Linked DNA regions of Homo sapiens: all the other regions are linked to region 4. The links are contacts of gene promoters, found by promoter capture Hi-C in blood cells and fetal thymus (Javierre and others, 2016). All regions are on one chromosome and are shown on one strand. The core of a region is centred on a gene start or on the middle of the fragment in contact, and the rest is flanking DNA. Distances in the headings are between cores, read along the strand shown. Region 1 has its middle 50 kb from the start of FAM3C. Region 2 has its middle 26 kb from the start of WNT16. Region 3 overlaps FAM3C (FAM3 metabolism regulating signaling molecule C). Region 4 holds the start of CPED1 (cadherin like and PC-esterase domain containing 1). Region 5 overlaps FAM3C (FAM3 metabolism regulating signaling molecule C). Region 6 has its middle 7.1 kb from the start of FAM3C.

The links. Contacts are between HindIII fragments. The CHiCAGO score rates a contact against its expected background, and 5 or more counts as called.
Region 1: a contact is called between a fragment that was not itself captured here and the fragment with the promoter of CPED1 in region 4, in 1 of 17 cell types (total CD4 T cells). The highest score is 5.0, in total CD4 T cells.
Region 2: a fragment that was not itself captured here is called in contact with the fragment with the promoter of CPED1 in region 4 in 1 of 17 cell types (erythroblasts); the score reaches 5.9 in erythroblasts.
Region 3: a fragment that was not itself captured here is called in contact with the fragment with the promoter of CPED1 in region 4 in 4 of 17 cell types (M0 macrophages, M1 macrophages, non-activated CD4 T cells and 1 more); the score reaches 13.5 in M0 macrophages.
Region 5: a contact is called between a fragment that was not itself captured here and the fragment with the promoter of CPED1 in region 4, in 7 of 17 cell types (total B cells, naive B cells, non-activated CD4 T cells and 4 more). The highest score is 13.2, in total B cells.
Region 6: a fragment that was not itself captured here is called in contact with the fragment with the promoter of CPED1 in region 4 in 5 of 17 cell types (monocytes, activated CD4 T cells, total CD4 T cells and 2 more); the score reaches 6.2 in monocytes.

What each region holds. Positions count from the first base shown.
Region 1 is chr7:121,444,590-121,447,421 of GRCh38, forward strand. No RefSeq gene overlaps it. Among named protein-coding and RNA genes, the nearest start is that of FAM3C, 50 kb to the left of the region's middle. The HindIII fragment of the contact is 8,915 bases long and covers 1-2,832 here.
Region 2 is chr7:121,301,597-121,304,519 of GRCh38, forward strand. No RefSeq gene overlaps it. Among named protein-coding and RNA genes, the nearest start is that of WNT16, 26 kb to the right of the region's middle. RefSeq lists an enhancer at 737-806. The HindIII fragment of the contact is 4,009 bases long and covers 1-2,923 here.
Region 3 is chr7:121,383,347-121,386,288 of GRCh38, forward strand. All of the region lies in intron 1 of FAM3C (FAM3 metabolism regulating signaling molecule C), which reads right to left. Among named protein-coding and RNA genes, the nearest start is that of FAM3C, 11 kb to the right of the region's middle. RefSeq lists a silencer at 1,954-2,151. The HindIII fragment of the contact is 2,871 bases long and covers 1-2,783 here.
Region 4 is chr7:120,986,955-120,990,063 of GRCh38, forward strand. CPED1 (cadherin like and PC-esterase domain containing 1) reads left to right here and starts at 1,757. Exons shown (of 23, transcript NM_024913.5): 1 at 1,757-1,958; 2 at 2,437-2,916. The coding sequence starts at 2,668. RefSeq lists an enhancer at 933-1,012. The HindIII fragment of the contact is 5,089 bases long and covers 1-2,930 here.
Region 5 is chr7:121,351,628-121,354,532 of GRCh38, forward strand. The region is part of intron 8 of FAM3C (FAM3 metabolism regulating signaling molecule C); the gene reads right to left. Among named protein-coding and RNA genes, the nearest start is that of WNT16, 24 kb to the left of the region's middle. The HindIII fragment of the contact is 1,388 bases long and covers 705-2,092 here.
Region 6 is chr7:121,402,004-121,404,802 of GRCh38, forward strand. No RefSeq gene overlaps it. Among named protein-coding and RNA genes, the nearest start is that of FAM3C, 7.1 kb to the left of the region's middle. The HindIII fragment of the contact is 2,744 bases long and covers 1-2,639 here.

The DNA.
Region 1 (2,832 bases), core at 210-2,709, 460 kb after region 4:
ATATCCTGGAAAACACAGGACAAGTGAAAAGGCAATTTGTTGACTAACTTGATCACGGTAAAGAGTCAAATTGGATAATTAGATTCCAAAGTGGATTTTGGGGGGACCTAATTTTCCTATTTGGCTGCCTAACAGTATCAAAATAACTGCTAATTGCCAAATCTCTCTCTCCCTTCTCTGTATGCTTAGCCAATATTGCTGTAGTGCATCAAAAAAAAAAAAAAAAATGCTACCATTGCTCAGTCCACCTGTGCATCTCCTAATAATTAAATAGTGCACTTGTAGAAATTTTTTTTGGTTGGGGGGAGGTGGGAGACAAGAAGATTTACACATATAGGGACTAGTCATAGCCTATAGTTAAGTGTCTAGCTCCAGAACCTGAAGCACAATGGTTTCTCCTAAGTGAAATTTAGGACTGTAGGACCAGCTGTAAGCTGAGACCTCCAAAATCTGCATTGGTCAGCGGTCCCCAAATTTTGGGCAAAGGGAATCACTTAGGAATCTGTAATAATACTGATATTTGGTTGCCCCTAACTCTACCAGACATGATGATTTAATTGGTAGGGGATGAGAATAGGAATCATACAATTTCCCCAAGTGATTCTAATGTGGAACAAAGTTTGGCAACTCCTGAAATTTGGTCAATATCATCGTAAAATATGCTAGTTTGTTAGGTTGATTTTTTGCAATGGTTGGGCCTAAGGCAATGTGATCAAGATTGCAGGCACTTGGATCAGACAAGCTGCTTCTTAATCTTGCTCAACCTCTGCTGGTTCTGTCTATGTCCACAAACTGGCCAGGTAATTTTGTTTAGTTTCAGCTTTCTTATTTGTATGATAGAGATAAATGTGCCCACCTCATAGTATTGTTCTGAAGATGAAATGTGTTTGGAAGGTTTTGGAAAATTGTTGGCATGAAATCTGGCACCCAGAACTTGATATATTCTAGCCATCATTATATGTTGTTAGGATTTTGAATCTATATTTTATTTTATAAGACAAAAGTCGCTGGGCACAGTGGTTCACGCCTGTAATCCCAGCACTTTGGGAGGCCGAGATGGGTGGATCACCTGAGGTCGGGAGTTCGAGACCAGCCTGATCAACATGGAGAAAACCCGTCTCTATTAAAAATACAAAAAATTAGCCAGGCGTGGTGGCACATGCCTGTAATCCCAGCTAGTCAGGAAGCTGAAGCAGGAGAGTCACTTGAACCTGGGAGGTGAAGGTTGTGGTGAGCCGAGATCTCGCCATTGCACTCCAGCCTAAGCAACAAGAACGAAACTCCGTCTCAAATAAAAAAAGAAAAAGATCTTTGAATAAGTCATCTGAGGAAGTTACCATAGGCCTTCCTTTACTTATTTTCTAAAGATAACATAATAATTATATTTTTCTTTTATATTACAAAATTAATTTCTGCAAAACAAAGCAGAATATATACCATTTATCACAACTCTTTTCTTCAACACTGTTTCGTTCTATAAAATGGAAATGAAAGTCCTGTACAATAGCAGTCACTAGCTAGCATCTAATTTAATTATCTTTATAGCATCTTTCATAAAACTAAGTCAGTAGGAGGCCATAAACAGAGAATTTAGGAAATTTTATTAATCTCCTGGGTAATAATATAGACATTTTCCTTGAATTCATAATGTCTCAGTGGGCTTTTGATTAGATATGCAACTCAAGTCACATGGATGATAACACATTGAGAACTTATGGTTGATGTGATCACTAAACATAGACTGTGAAGGTCAACAATTTTATTGCCAATTCCTCATAGCAGCTCTATCTCTAAAATCATATGTATAATGCAACCAACTTACTCTAATGCAAAATACCCACATTCTATTTTCATGTGTTATTTTCTTTTGATTTTTAAAATGTACTAAACCAATGTAAAAATAAAATTATGTATGCTTAGCCCACCTTGGGCAAAAATGCAGTTTTGCCGGGGAGTGAGGTAGGAGTAGAGAGATGGGTGTCCCGATTAAGAAGAAGATTAAAGGGAGTTTCAGGCAACTCTCTAAGGAAAGTCTATGCTCTACTCCTAAACTTCTCTAATGCCTTGGATGTGTAACCAGAATCCTGAAATACTAGTTTCACAGCTAGCAGGCGCCTACCACCATTAGGTTTGTTGCTTCTCGCTGAGGCAACTCTAAGTTGATCCCAGCATGCTGTGCAAATATAATCAGCTTTCATGTGTGTCATAATGCAAAAAAACATGGGACGCCCTGCTTACATAGCACTCTTTTTTTTTTCAGTGAATGTTATCATTATAATTAAAGTGTCTTTGGGTATAATCTTGGATGATTCTAATACTCAAAGAACAAAAATGAAGAATTCCTGACCATTTCACAAACTCATCCAATTTTAAGATGTTCTTTTTGGTTATGAAGGAAAACACAATTAGAGATTGTTGTTCAAATTATATGATAGATGACTCTGCAGTACATTATAGTATCAAAAATCTGGGCTTCCTTAGCTTTGGAGGGCTATTATCATAACAGTTGGATGATTCATTTAGGTCAGAAAAATCCCATTTCAGAATATTCTTGAAAAAAAATATAATTAATATAATTCCACTCAGATTTGAGAACATTTGGTTTATTTCTAGCTACAAATAGTTTCCTCTATACCAGAAAATAAATTATTTACTTCTTTTCTCTAGGTTTATGTGTTGCTAGGTTTCATTCGAACTTTATTTCAACCTTAAGAATAAATTGGGAAGAAAAAATATGTTTAGGGTGGGGACTGAAATAAGTAATGTAGAATTCCAAATCAGTTAGAGTAAAAAAATTCAATGGCTTGGGGACAGGATGTGATATAAATAGAA
Region 2 (2,923 bases), core at 20-2,519, 310 kb after region 4:
CTTCCCTTCACCACTGATCATGGACTTGTTATGCTGCCTCTGCAGACAAGAAAGTCAAAACTGTTGGGTCAAAGCCAAACCTTCCCTGGTTTGTGTCTGGGCAGAGTGTGTGTCAAATAAAAGACTTGAAAACAGGAATTCTGGATTATTTTCAAATAAAAACTCATCCATACTGTATAAATACGTGTGTGTGTGTGTGTGTGTATGTATAGATAAAATGTATGCACACACACATACACACACAATGAAATAGATAATGGAGCAGTATCAAATAATCTTATATCCATCGAATTAGTTCCTTTAAAACATTCCTTTTATTTTTTATTTATAGCAGTATGTAAAACCTTTAGTATAACAGGTTCTATATCTCTGGATGCCTTTACCAAGTGCTCGTCTGAACATGTGGGGAATGCACTTCGAGGCCTCCGCCAGGCAGTGACAGAGCAGGGAGGGACGTGTTAGGGGAGATGTTTGCTAGATGCTTTTCTTAAGAGGTGACAAGTAACCCAACTGCCAGAAATCACCAAAATAAGAAGATACTAGGAAATGTTGGACTGTGGAGTCACGAGGGCTCCAAAACTAGAGAGAACGATAAACTATAGTTTAAACTTTAAAACTACAGAGAACTCGGGGAAAGAAAGAGAGCAGGGCAACATTGTACCCTGATGAAAGTAAATGGATCAGTAAAGTTCACTTATGGGAATCACTCTCAGTAGGGACTCTGGCCACATGCCGTGCCTCTGCCCTCAGATCTCACAGGGCCTTCTCACTGGCAAATGCTGAGATGGGTGGCTGAGAGGTAAGTCATATCCCTCAGTATGACTCAGTATGACCCTCAGTATGGCTGAGGGGTAAGTCATAACCCTTAGTTATGCGGCAGCATAACTAAGTCCTGTAAACTGTGGCAGAGGTTCCGCTGGGTGGAGGACACCCAGCACGATCACAGTTCTACAGCTCATAACTTTCTTCCTCCAAATCGAATTTCTAGTTGGCCTCCACCCATTTTCGTTTCCCCTTTTTGACTTAGATGGTTTCTGTGTCCACCTCCATTATTGCATTTTCACGGTATAATTACCTACAATCATCTATTTGATTACCTTGAGCCATTCATCTTTCTACTATCCAATCTCTAATGTAGAGTAGGGGCTCAGCAAACATTGCTCTCTCTCATTCTTTTCTCTGTTCACTACTTCTTAGCTCAGATGCCATCTCCTCTAGGAATCTTTCTCTGATTCCTCATACACTGATCAAAGTATTCTTTCTTTGCATTCCTTTAGCGTTCCCTGTTTACCCCAACCCAGCCATTTTCTCTTTGTCTGTTTAAGTTTGTCCTCCCTAGAATGTAAACTCCATGCGGAAGGGACTGAGTTGTTTGTTTGATTGTGGATATGCAAAATTTTTAACTGTTTTATTGAGATAAAATTTACCTACATGAAGTTCACTCATTTAAAGTGTAAAATTAAGTAGTTTTTGGTATATTTACAGTTCTGCAGTCATCAAGATAATCTAACTTTAGAACTTTTTTATCATCCCAAAAAGAAACATAGCAGTCACTCTTCAACTTTCCCCACCTCCACTCCTCAGACTTCAGTGACCACCAATCTGCTTTTTGTTTCTATGGATTTGCCTACCTTGGATGTTTCATATAAATAAGATCACACAATATGTGGTCTTTTTGGCTGCTTTCCTTCACTTAGCATTATTATGTTTTAATCTTTGCACTCTCAGTTTAGAAACAAATTACCTGGCACAGGAAAGACACTCATGAATTTTTATAAAAAAAAAAAAAACACACAAACAAATGCACTAACAAACTCTAGCATTTTCTGGAGTTAAAAATTGTGCTCGAAATAGAAGTTATCTAAAAGGCTTTGACAACGCACTATGTTAGAAATAGTATTAATATCATCATTTCCTGATACCCTGTTTAGCAAGTACCAAATGTTTGTTCCCATTGTTTATATGTATTATTTGTAACTGTTTTATTGAGATACAATTTACCTACCATGAAGTTTACTCATTTAAAGCATAAAATTCAGTGGTTTTTAGTATATTTACAGTTGGGATTGAGGTAGAGTACGAAAGAAGTAGTTGGGGAAGATGTCAGGTACATGTGGAAGTTGTCCTCCTGGACTCAATGGGGAGGCTGCTAGAAGTTCAGGGAGCTGCTGACACCCGGTGCTGGGCCCTGAGGCTTGCAGTTTGCACAGGGCTATGGTGCTTCAGGCCTGCTCTTTGCTGTACCCCTATACCTCGCTCATCTCAGAAGAAGCAGATGTTCTTTCCACCCTGCCCCTAGCAAAACTGGAAAGGATTTGATGAAGTTATGCCCATGTCTAAATGAACCATATCTCAAGCCCTCATAACTGAAGTTTTAAGAGAGGACAAAGTAAGACATTTCTAGTTGTGGAATTTCAGGTATCGGCTAGCCAGAAATGAGACTATTAAAAGAAGCAGGGAGTATCACATAACTTATCTGGAAGAGTCTGCTATTTTGACACCAAAAATTGAGGAGCCAGGAAAAAAGCTATACTGATTGCCCCATTTAGAGATGTGAGTTATTGGAGCCTAAAGTATATGGGAAGATATTCATGCAGGCCCTGCCCTTCCAGCATATAGACCAATGGGCATGGCTTCTGATCCATACAAATATTTCTACTTGCTTTCTTTTTCTACCATACTATCACCAAATGCAATATTAATGCAACATCAAAATTCATTTTTACATTATAAATCTTCCCTTAATTTTGTATATGATAAGCGCTTACAGATGCAAATCATGTTTAAATAGAAGACATAATGGTTAAAAGAAGTATGCCATATTGTAATAATTTTGCAAACAGCTGTTTCAAGTTAGCATGTGTGTATTCCCAGTCTTGTGTATATGAGATACAAGTTAATGTCAACAGTACATTAACAATGC
Region 3 (2,942 bases), core at 98-2,597, 400 kb after region 4:
TGCAGATGATGTCCAAAGAGGTTAAGCTGCTTATCTAGTTGTGGAACAAATTATTTGTAGACATGGGGCTGGAATTGAGGTCAGCTGGCTCACTCCAGTACATGATGCCACTTCATTTTTGATATGACATAATTCAAGTGCCACTACCATAAGCATTTACAGCAAGGGCTTCCGATTTCAATACCAGGGACCTCTTCATGTTTTTCGATTTAAGTTTGTAAAATAATATGTTAAGAAGTACAGAACTGCAATTTTAAATATCCCAGCAATTATCATGATTGACAGAGTAATGTTAATACATCAAATGGATCAACTGTTCTTTGATATTACTGTAAGATCAACAGGAAACAGATGCTGGAAAAAAATCTGTATGTGCATGGGTGTTTTCCTCCTAAGAAATAACTCAAAATAGGTGACATTTTGAAAAGAAAATGAAAAAATAAGTAAGTTTAATAAGAAAGCCACATTCAAGTTTAGCTGGAGAGCTTCCACAGTCAACTCAACCTATTGTAAAGGAATGGAATTCAAAAGGAAATTTTGATGGATGAATCCCATTTGCCAGCAGTACATATCTATTTTAGATTGTATTTTGATATTTATGTTTCAATATTGTTGCCTGATCTAGTAATTCACAGAATGTGTCAAGAAAATAGTAATAATGGCACATCTCTGAAGGACACTGAAAAGAAGTGAGACATGCACTTTTTTTATTCACTGGACTAGGCAGGTGGGCTTCAGCAGGGTTCTGGGGGGCGGGGGAGTCTGGACAGCTCCCAAAAGTCCAATGCTCTTAGGCTAGCTCTCTTTCTTCTGCACAACATACCCTAAAGAAAAAACAACACTTAAACTGAGTTGTGTGTCATTGATTTCCTTTGTTAATTATCTGAACAGCTTCCACGTAATAGAAAAAGTCAATGTTATATATCTATTTCAACTACCTAGCCACAGGCTAGGAAAATACTAAAAGGAAACAAGATACTGAAGTATCCACAAACCATCACATAAAAGCAGAAAAAAACCTCCGCTTTTTAAATGAAAACCCCAACTGGTTATAAATCCTCTGTTGGCTTCTGGCAAAACTGAACTCAGCTTTCATAACATATACATGCTTTTCCTGCCAGCTAATTTTCCAAAATAACTTCACTCTTATCTGAGTGTGACCTAGGAAAATTTCTTTGAAAGTGTGATAAGCAGTTACGCACCAGGTACTTGATGTTCTATTTCACTGTTTCCATGGCCTGCTCAGGCCACACCTTGCAGTGGATGCTGCATGTACCTGCCACCCATTTGTATCTCCCAACAAACCTGTTTCTAAACTCATCCCTAAGACCACAATATAAGCAATGATGATTGTCTAGCTGAATACAACTGTTTTCCATTAAAATGTCTCAGAGAATTCACATTTAGTAAAATTTCTAAATTAAAATCTCATCAAATTAAATCTCAGCCATAACATGCCTCAATTAATTTCCTTAAGAAGCAAATTAATGATTCAAGAATCTACATCAGGATAGGAGTATTGAATATATTTGAGAGCAAATCAAGGAGCATCTATGTATGATGATAATGTGCTAATTCTAAATCATTCCTATTTGTCTTCTTAGAGGGGGCATGTAAAAGCAAAGAAAATATTTACATACAATTATCTTGTATGGGTGAGGGAAGCAAAAACTTAATGGAAACTTCAGGCTGAAAACCATCAATAATTAAACAAGGATTGAACAGGTCCAGAGAAAAGGAGCACAATAGTAAAGGGAGAAAAAGGCCTTTGCTAGAAATTCAGAACTCTAAATCTAGAGGCAACAGGCGAAAGGGCTTATATATAAGTATGTTCATTAAAAGGTAGAAATATAGATATTAGAGCCACTTACCAAAACCAGAAAATGAGTCACAGAAGGATATTTTTAGGATGGAAAAAAAACCCCAAAACTCAACTTAGTACATTTATACATTTGCTCCAAAAAGTGTTACATAGGCCAAAATTTGTTTTAGTGTTTTTGATAAATATATGTCACTGAACCAAATCCAGTTGCTAATATGTAAGGTTCATAATCACCTGAGATTCAACAGCAAGGACAGCCACCACAATGTCGCTGGACAATGAAACACTGCAGCTGGAAAGAGCGCCTGAACTAGGGCCTCAGATGGACGTACTAAACTTCTTTACATGGTTGACAATTTAAACATTCCTTTGGCCCCACTATCTACTCTGATCTAATTTAGTGAAGTTTTATTACTCAGGTAGAAATCAAGCTACTATGTGAATAAGGAGTCATTGTTCTAGAATAAATTAACTTCAGGAACAACAGAGTAAAATCAAAGGTCAAGTGATACTTCCATTATTTCCTTGGGAAGTGGACTAAATCACATAAACCACAGAAACATCACTCTATATTGACAAAATTGTCATAAAAAATTATTTACCAGGAGGGGGATTTCTTGCCAGTTAACATAAACCAAGTATGAATACATACTTATGTCAGTGCAATTCACACACACCCTTATTTTATGTAATCTTCCCACCAGCCTCTAGTTGCTGGGGGCATTAAAACAGCAGCATATATGAGATCAGGGGATTTCTCTAGGGTCACATGAAGGGTAAGTAAGAAGCTCACGCTACAAACAAATCCACTTCCTTTTCACTCCAGCTGTTCACTGACACACTCTAATATAAGAGGCTTGTTGACAAAATGTCATGCCAATCAACTTGGCTTTTGCAAACTGCTTTGGGAATTGCTACAAACTACCCACTCCAGCAATTCAACAGTATGGCAAAATGACTAAGCTTGGGTATTGGAACCCCTCCTTGAAATGGAAATGATACAAGAAAATTAAACGTACAAATACACCCTTTGATGTACCTACTTAATATTAACAAACAGCACTTAATTAAACCACAGGAAAATACCACAAGTTATCCTCTACAAATAGAGAAACTATCA
Region 4 (3,109 bases), core at 507-3,006:
GTGATAATTCCTGCTATATCTCCTTTCCACCTCTTGTTTGCACCTTCTCAAGCTACCTCTTTTCTCTCTCTTGCAAATATTTCCTTACTGCTTTCTTCCACTCCCTTGGACTCAGTGGTTAAAATGGGAAATGGGGTTCTTTAATCTACTAGAATCATTTCTGGGATACTAATTTTCCACCTTCTTCCCAATTCCCATTATTTGAAGTCTAGCTATATTATCTTAAAATTTTCAATACTGTTGTCTTTCATTTCTCCCAACCGAATGGCAATTTTATTTTAGCATCTGATTTACTTTCTTCTGTACCTTGTTCTCAACAATTTAATAAAGCATAAGAATGACTCTTTAGATTCCCCAAACTCTGTTTTTCAGACTTCTTGCCTTAACAGAACTTAATAGAACTGTCTGCCTATTCCTTATCACTCAGTAACAGCATTGTCACACCCTGGATTCCAATTTAGAAATCTCACAATTCTTATTATCTCTCAAATCACATTGCATCCACCAAAACGATATGTCCTACAACACCACTGTTCAGCCATTTTCTCTTAAAACTCTTTTGGCTTCTAAAAGTGAAGCATCACTTTATTTTTCTCTATCCCATTTGTCATAAGATTAAGGACTCTGAACCTATACATAAAATAATATTAAAGCCACTGGAGGCGATACATGCAAGGGCTTGGGATAAATCCAGCTTCCGTGTGAATATTTCTTCTGTAATGTGTTAATTAATTTGTTCTATAGGATGTTAAAAGGGTTTCTTTCTCACAAGCAAGGAACTCTAGATGCCCATTTCTCTGAATCTGTGCTAGCTGGGCACCCCTAGGGGGCGCTCCGTCTCTCAAAATACAAGGGGCTGACAGCAGCGTGCCTCTGGGTGAGGCTCACTCTAGGGGTGTGGCCTCACGGAGAACCTCAACCCACAAGAGTTTGGCTTAGAAACAAGTTTGAAAACCTCTTCAGGTCCAGAGCCTTTAAATAATGCCTGCTATGCGCTAAGACAGCCCTGGGTATCCAGAGTTCACAAAGCAAGGACTGATTTCCTTTCGCCTTGACAGCCTCAGCAAAAGTGGAAGGGGGTTTGCAGAATTGCACTATTAGCAGCGTCCACCCGAAGGTCTGCACAGAATTAGACTGAGCTGATTCTGGACAAAGCCCACTGTGTACCTTTATCTACTGGGCAAAAGTTACCCCCAACACCTGCTATAATCGACTCATTTTAGGAGCAAAATGTCAGGCCATGAAGCATCAGATCATTGAAAGACCCAATTAATTAGTCCAGGAAAGGAGTAATAAGAACATCTGTGATCTGAGTTCCATACTAAGACACAGAGAGACGACTGAGTTATTCTGGTGCTTGCTGTCTGAGGTCCAGACAGTACTTGTGACCCTCTTATCCTCAGAAGAGTAACCACAATTCCCTGGAGTGAAGAATATCCCAATTCACTCATGGAGTTCACTTTAGTCTCATTCTCGACCTTTGTCACCAATTGGCTAAGGCTATTTGTTTTTCCAATTCTGTATTAGGAAAAAGAAGTTGCACAGAGGATCAGACATCAGATACGTTTCTAAATTCTGCAGCTCTGGGTGGGCAGCCTCATTTGGGGAAATGCTAGCTGCTGTTTCCAAAGTGGGGAAGCCCACGGTTTCGGACACAGGGCTGACAGCGCTGCTCCAGCAGCCCCCAGGGCCAGAGGAACCCGGCCTTAGCTCCGCCCCGCTCTGCCCGGCCCCGGGTGGCTGCGATGCCGAGGTCCTCTGCTCCCGCCGGGCGTGCAGCGGGCGCGCGCGCGTGTGTTTATGTGTCTGTGTGCGTGTGTGTGTGTGTCTCTCTCTGTGTGTGTGTGAGATGAATTGGAGTCATACGACTGGGTGTTTCCTTCCGAGTGGTTTTCATCAGCAATCCATTAGGAAATCATGGAAACTTTTTTTTTCCTGGCTAAAAGGATGAAAACTGAGTAAGTACATAGAACTTTGAACTTGAGACGGAATGAAACAAATTCAAGCAAAAACCCTGACAGTAACCATGTCCATTCAAATTGCGTATGCCCTTTTTATGTTAAAAGCCGTGAATACTTACAGGACAGTGGGAATTTAAAACTAAATGAAGGGAAGCATACAAAAGGCTGAAAGCAAGACTGCTTTAAAACCGGAGGAAAATTGAGGAACTGCTAAGGCAACCTGGCCTGAGTTCAGCTGTGCAACAGGCACTTTGGGTTTTAATCTTTTGCGTTCTTCAATGCTGTTTTCAGACTCCAGATATACTTTGGTATTGTTTTCTCTCTTCCTGCAAAGCTGAGGCAGAGTCGGACTCCTTTACTGTGAGTTGAAAGATGTGAGAATAAGGCATTGCTGGAAGCAACAGTTTGGCAGCCTGGGGTACACTCAGGTTATTCGTTACAACTATTATTATTTGATGTCTTTTTTTAAACTCAGGTCATCCACTTTTGACTGTCATCCATGGAAGAGCTCTTATTAAAAGCCTCAGACTTTCGGGACCTATGATTCTTTGGCACAACCTTTTGGAAAATTCTTAAGCAGGGATGAAGCAAACTTGATTGGAGTTGGGGAAAAAGAAGACAGATTAGTATTTTTCATGCTGACAAAAAATAGCTGCTATGACTTTTCCCGCAACGTGGACAGGGGCCAAGTGAAGCTGAACTGGTCATGGTCTGTCGCCCAGTGTTCCCTTGTCGTCGGCGATTTTGCCCCCGACCCTTCTTGGTGGGCTTAGTGGTGGCAATCTGTCTCTTCTACCAGACTCTGACCCTCCGAGGGTCGAGGAAGCTCACAGCCGCTGCCCCTGGGGCTGTCCCACACACATCCACTGAAACCCAGGCAAGCAGATGCAAGAAAGGATTCTCTCAGGACAAACAGTGCTTCCTTCTCTCTGGTAATGCCCAGGAAACCAGAAAGGTAAGACTCTCATAAGCTTAACGGAGACAGTTTCTGCAAAGACAGCAATCTGCTTCTCTGTCCTTTCTATAAAACTAAAATTAACTTCCATGAGGTCTGAAAGGGATCCAGAGTGTAAACAGCCTAGAGAGTGACCTGATGACTGGGAAACACGTTACATAAGCTTCAACTTCTTATAGTTACTTCCAGAAAG
Region 5 (2,905 bases), core at 149-2,648, 360 kb after region 4:
ATAAAATTAATCTTTTTGAATCTCCACTAAACCCTCTGTAAATTACATTTGACCAGAATAAAGGTAAATGCTGACAAAAATCTGTATGTTTCTAACACTATGTTTTATTTAAAAGAAAATGAATTTTGAGAACAGATATATAAATTGTACTTCAGTGATAACTGCCAAGTGGTTACTTAATAAAAATGAAAATATTAACCACACAGCAGCTAAATGCCTACTAGCAGGAGGTGGAGCAGTGACAGAAGTCAACCACCAGGGAAACTACTAATTGAAAGATGTCCCTAAAAAATTTTGTGTAAGTGATCATCCTAATGGTCAATGATTTTCTCTCCTTTATCTCTAAGGAGAAAAGAAACTCAGAACATAAATGGTAGCTATAGAGCTTAAAAAAAGAAGAAGAAGAAAAAATTAAGGGCTACTTGTACACATATTTGGCATTGAGTCCTATATACTGCGCAAAAGACAGCTCTAACAGGTCACTTAGAGAGGTTTGTTCTGCTAAAACCTGAGGCAAGGCAAGTTTATATTTCCAAACAGCAGGAAAGTCAGTGAGGAAGGTACTTATTCATTCTACAGTGTTCTTTCAAACCTCTCATGCTAGTATCAAGTAGCTCCTTTAATATCTTAGTGAAAGAAACACTACATAGAACAGTTCTCATTTAACTAAAGAAAAAGGGATACTCTTATGGTTTTTTTAAAAAAGCTTCATAAAACAGGAAAGAACTACATATATCATTAAACTTTCATGATTGATGCCCACCACATCCGTGGGGGCTGTGGAGCTGTTTTGGCCACAGCCTGGGCACTGCTGTCCACCTGGAGGAAGTTCACTAGAATCAGCAAGAAAATAAGCCATAGCCTGTGGAGCATTTAGCCTTTCAGATTCGCCTCCTATATTAAGTGGTACATTTATAGCCAAGTGAACTAAAAAGAAGTGAAATGACTGTGCAGAAGAACCAATCTCAGCCTCTGTGAAGATTGTGAGGCCTTCACATGAAATCTGTGCATATGCACTGGCTTTCCCTCCACAGTTCCTCTGCAGCTTCGTTTCCTGTGCCCATCCTTACATGAATTATCCATCACTTTCCACTTGTTTGCTCACTTGATAACCAACTTTGGTGCTAGAGGGAAATGCCCCAAAATTATCACCTGAACCTTGTTTTCTTGTTTCCAAATGTTATTGGGATGCCATGGATCTAAAAGGCTGTCAAATTCCACTTGCGTAGTTTATCCAAATGTTCTATTTTCTAACTACCTTATGGAAGTCTACACTTGCATCATCAGCACTAGCGATGAGTTTTGCTGCTGTAACAAGAATAAATAGTATTGAAATGTCTAGAGCACAGGCAGTAGGCTCAGTGGTCAGCTAAATGGACTGCCTCCTGCAGAGAGGCTTTGGGGTTCCATTCACATTTACATCTCAAAAAAATTATGAATTGATACCTCACAGGCCTTTAGGGTGGCTCATAAACAGCTGAAATGATGAATGTGAAGTTCACAAATGTTAAGAGATTGCTTTACACAGGAAAAATTCCCTGCAAAATAGAAGGTTATCCAAACGCAGGTCCAGCTCCCTGCCAAAAGTAAAATCTTATCCAAGAATTTTGCACCAACTAAGAAATATGTTGAAGGGCAGTCAGGCATTCTTATTTTTGTACTCCTGAATTTCAGAAGTGACCATTATGATCTGTATGAATAAACCAAGCTGATTTACAATCAAGCCAGAGATCAAGGAGAAACTTAAAGATTGAGCTTTATGTTTTAACTCCATTAATCTTATTCCTTGCTTTTCCATTAGAAGATACTGAGATCCTGTGCAGATATGCATTAACATAGCAGGCCTGAGCTTAGAAAGGCCTACTAGCAAGACTGACCCTTGGCTATCTGGCCACTTGGATTTGCGGAGGGCTCCTATCATTTTCAAAACTGATAAGAATGGTTCATTGTGTCTAAACTGTGGGCAAAAACAATGCAATTTATGCTGAACACTTGTTTTCTCTCTGGGAGTCTGGTATTTTGCAACAGGTTAGGCAGAGGGTGCCTACATGACCAGCCCCTAATAAAATCTCTGGGCATTGAGTCCCTAATAAGCTTCCTTGCAGACAACATTTCCCATGTGTTGTCCTAACTGGTTGCTGGAAGAATTAAGCATGTCCTGTTTGACTCCACTTGGGAGAAGACTCCTTTGTCCCTCCAGACTTTGTCCCATGAACCTTTTCCCTTTGCTCATTTTGCTTTGTGTATTTTTGCTTTAACAAATCACAACCATGAGACCTACTGGAGAACTGTCAAAACTGGGAGTGGTTTGGGGGACGTCTAACACATAGCCCTGTGTATATCTAACTACAGTTTTATAACAAGATGACTTTGTCAATGACTTCTAACACTTTCTGATCTGCCTATGTAGAATTTGGTTGATTATTTTATTATTATTTTTAGATATCTTCTGTGTAACTAAGTAAAAAAAATCTTTATATTTCAAAAGTTTAAAATCATGTAACATAGCCAGTATTTAATTGAATATACAGGAAATGTCAAAATGCCCCTTTTTTAAAAAAGCCAGGGCAGCAAATATATTTTTATATAGCATAAAGGTTGGAGATACAAGCTTTTTATTCCACATAGGGCACTCTGAGTTTGTTACATATATTTTAATCCTTACTAATGGTCTTAACTAGCTGAGTTAAAAATTTATGTCAAATATATTATTTTAGTGAATAATTTTCTTCAAAATGAACAGAAAATTATCCTGTGATAAACCAGGATAGACAGAGAACGGTATCAGGTTTTGCTAGAAGACAATCTAATGCTGCCCAGAGGCAATCTAAACTAGAAAGGGAGGAAGTGGGAACTGGACACAGGAATCTGTGGGTTCTGCCTCAATCCTTGCTGGGAAAGGAGG
Region 6 (2,799 bases), core at 18-2,517, 410 kb after region 4:
AGTGTCTGTTTTCCTACAACATAATTGCTTAAGTCTGTAACTTCAGTTCTTTATTAAGAACTGACTATGGGAACCCTTTAGTCTAAGCACAAAAGGACTCACTGTGACGACGGCATTTTTATTAAACATTAAGATCTCTAGTTACATTAAATTGGAATGCATTGTTTGCTTTGAAAGGCAAAACAGTAGAAATATGAGTAGCAAAACATCATTCAATTGTTAGTATTGCATAAAGACCCGTTCTCTGGTGAATTTCATGGTCACTACAGATAGTTCAGCAACACACTCCAGCAGGCCAAAATCCCATGTGGTCATAACAAGTCTAAGAAATATACAATAGAAAAACAAACACAAAATAAATATATATGTATATGTATATATACACTGCATATTGTTATTGCAATCTTTGTGTGCTTTTTCAGGTATTATATAGTCTCATAAATTTGTTGGCTATTTTTCCTAATATGACTTATTTCAATAATACTTGTTCCAAGGAATTAGATGGAAACATTGGAATTCTAGACAATGACATTGACCTTCAAAACTTACAGGCTGGCAGTATTTTATGTGCAACAATGCTTTTCCCTGATGTACCTGTGACCTAGATAGGAAGCTGGAATCAGCCTAACCTTCCAAATATGTTTCACTAACTGCATTTCCAATTCTAGGTCACTCTCCCACCCCTCACCACCACACAAAAGGTACCACATCTGTACTATTTTGAACTTGTTTCCTGATTAAATAGGAAAGGTTACTTATGAATCCCTAAGCTGCTCATTTTTTGCACTTTTATTTTGAAATATTTTCTGTAGAACTGTTGTGGCCTTGCTGAGGCTTGGACATATTTTTAAGTGTAATTTATTTACTCAGAGAAGCTCTGCTCAAATATAGCATCTGGTATTTCATAGCGTTTTATCCAATAGTCAAATTTTCCATCTCTATTCATGAAGCCAAAACCAAGAAAACTGCTCACTTTACTTTGAAAAATCAAGCATGGGGAATTAACTAACTTTCAGATTCTATAGATTCCAGGATAATCTCACCTTCTGAAATTCCCCATCTCTTCATCTTTTCTACACCTCCAGGCCACCCTGCCCCCGATCATTGTTGAACTCATTGAAAGGACTGAAGTGAGAGGGTTGGACTTGAAGTCAGACAGATAATTTGGATCTTGGTTACATCTATTAATTGATTCTAAGTGACCTCAGCCCAGGTGCTTAGTCTGTCTAAACCAGTTCTTCCCTGTAAATGAGAACAATAGCAATCCTCTCACAGATTTTTAGTTAGTTTGTTCCATTTTGTTTTGGTATTGGAGAATGTTTAGTATAGTTTTTAGTATTGGAGGTGCAATTCATTTGCCACATCAGATCTATGGTCCCAAATAATTCTTAAATGCCATTACCCACCCTCCCCTGATTTGCATGCAAAACTTTGGTGAAGTATCTGCTTATCAGCTCAAGCCGCCAGTTGTCCTAGAACTCATTTGCACGGTCTTACTTCAGCACTAAGACATGGGACTCCTTTTGCAGAATTTTTTATTTTATTTTATTTTATTTTTACTTTTGTTGTTGTTGTTGTTCTTTTCTACACTACTACCCTTCACACACAGCCTTCACTGATTCATAGGAGCTGACATTTTCCACCTCCTCATTTCCATTGCTTCCATCCAGCCCAGCAGAACTGTCATCTCTCCATCACCAGTGGTACACCTACTGAGTGCTCATACTCATTACTGGTCCATTTGCCTTCTTCCAGGACTCCAGAGGCCACATGCTTCACTCTTTGCACCTGTATCTGAACAACCTAAGCTGCTTACTCTCCCAAATCCTCAACTCAGATGACAAATCCTCTCATAGTTTTTCACAGTTCCTTGAGGGAGACAGAACTTTTAATTGGAGCTTCTCATTCATGGTAGATCTCACCAAGGGCTTAACATATGATTCCATTTTCATGCTTCTCACTTGTTATCTTTGAGCATTTCCTGAAATAGTGATGGAATATTTCCAGCATCTGAATAGAAGCAGGTACACAGATGATTTCTCCACAAGTCTATTAAATTAATAAATTAATTTGCTATACAGGACAATTTGGAATCATACATGACCCCTGAAAATTTGAAATACATCTCACTTTCAAGAGAATACACACCTCCTGGCAACCACTAACCTGTTATCCATCACTATCGTTTTGTCATTTTAAGAATGTTATAGAAATGTTATCACGCAGTATGTAGTCTTTTGGGATTGGCTTTTTTCATTCAGCATAATTCTCTTAAGATTCACCCATTTGTTATCCTCAAGGCTAGGAGAGAAGAGAGAAGAAAGTGGGTGTGTTTTCAAAAGGGCATCATGAGGGATCCTGGCGGCAATAGAATAGCTCTGTGTCTCAGCTGTGGTGGTGGATACACAACCAACACAGGGGATCAAATTACATAGACCAAAATCATACACACAAATCAGTGCTATTAAAACTGGGGACATCTGAATAAGATAAGTGGATTTTATCTCTGTGGGTATCCTGGTTGTTACATTGCACAATAATTTTATAAGATGTTACCATTTGAAGAAACTGGATAAAGGGTACATAGATCCATTACTGCTTAGAATTACATGTGAATCTATAATGATCTAAAAATAAAAAGCTTAATTAAGAACACACCAGAGGGACTTATGACTAGCAGAGTAAGACAGCATACTTGAAGAATCGTGTAATTTGAATGTCAGATTTTGACAGAGCTTAAGGGATTTTGCACCTGCCATTTTAAAGATTTCAGATAGTACATATTATGCAAAGTGCCTG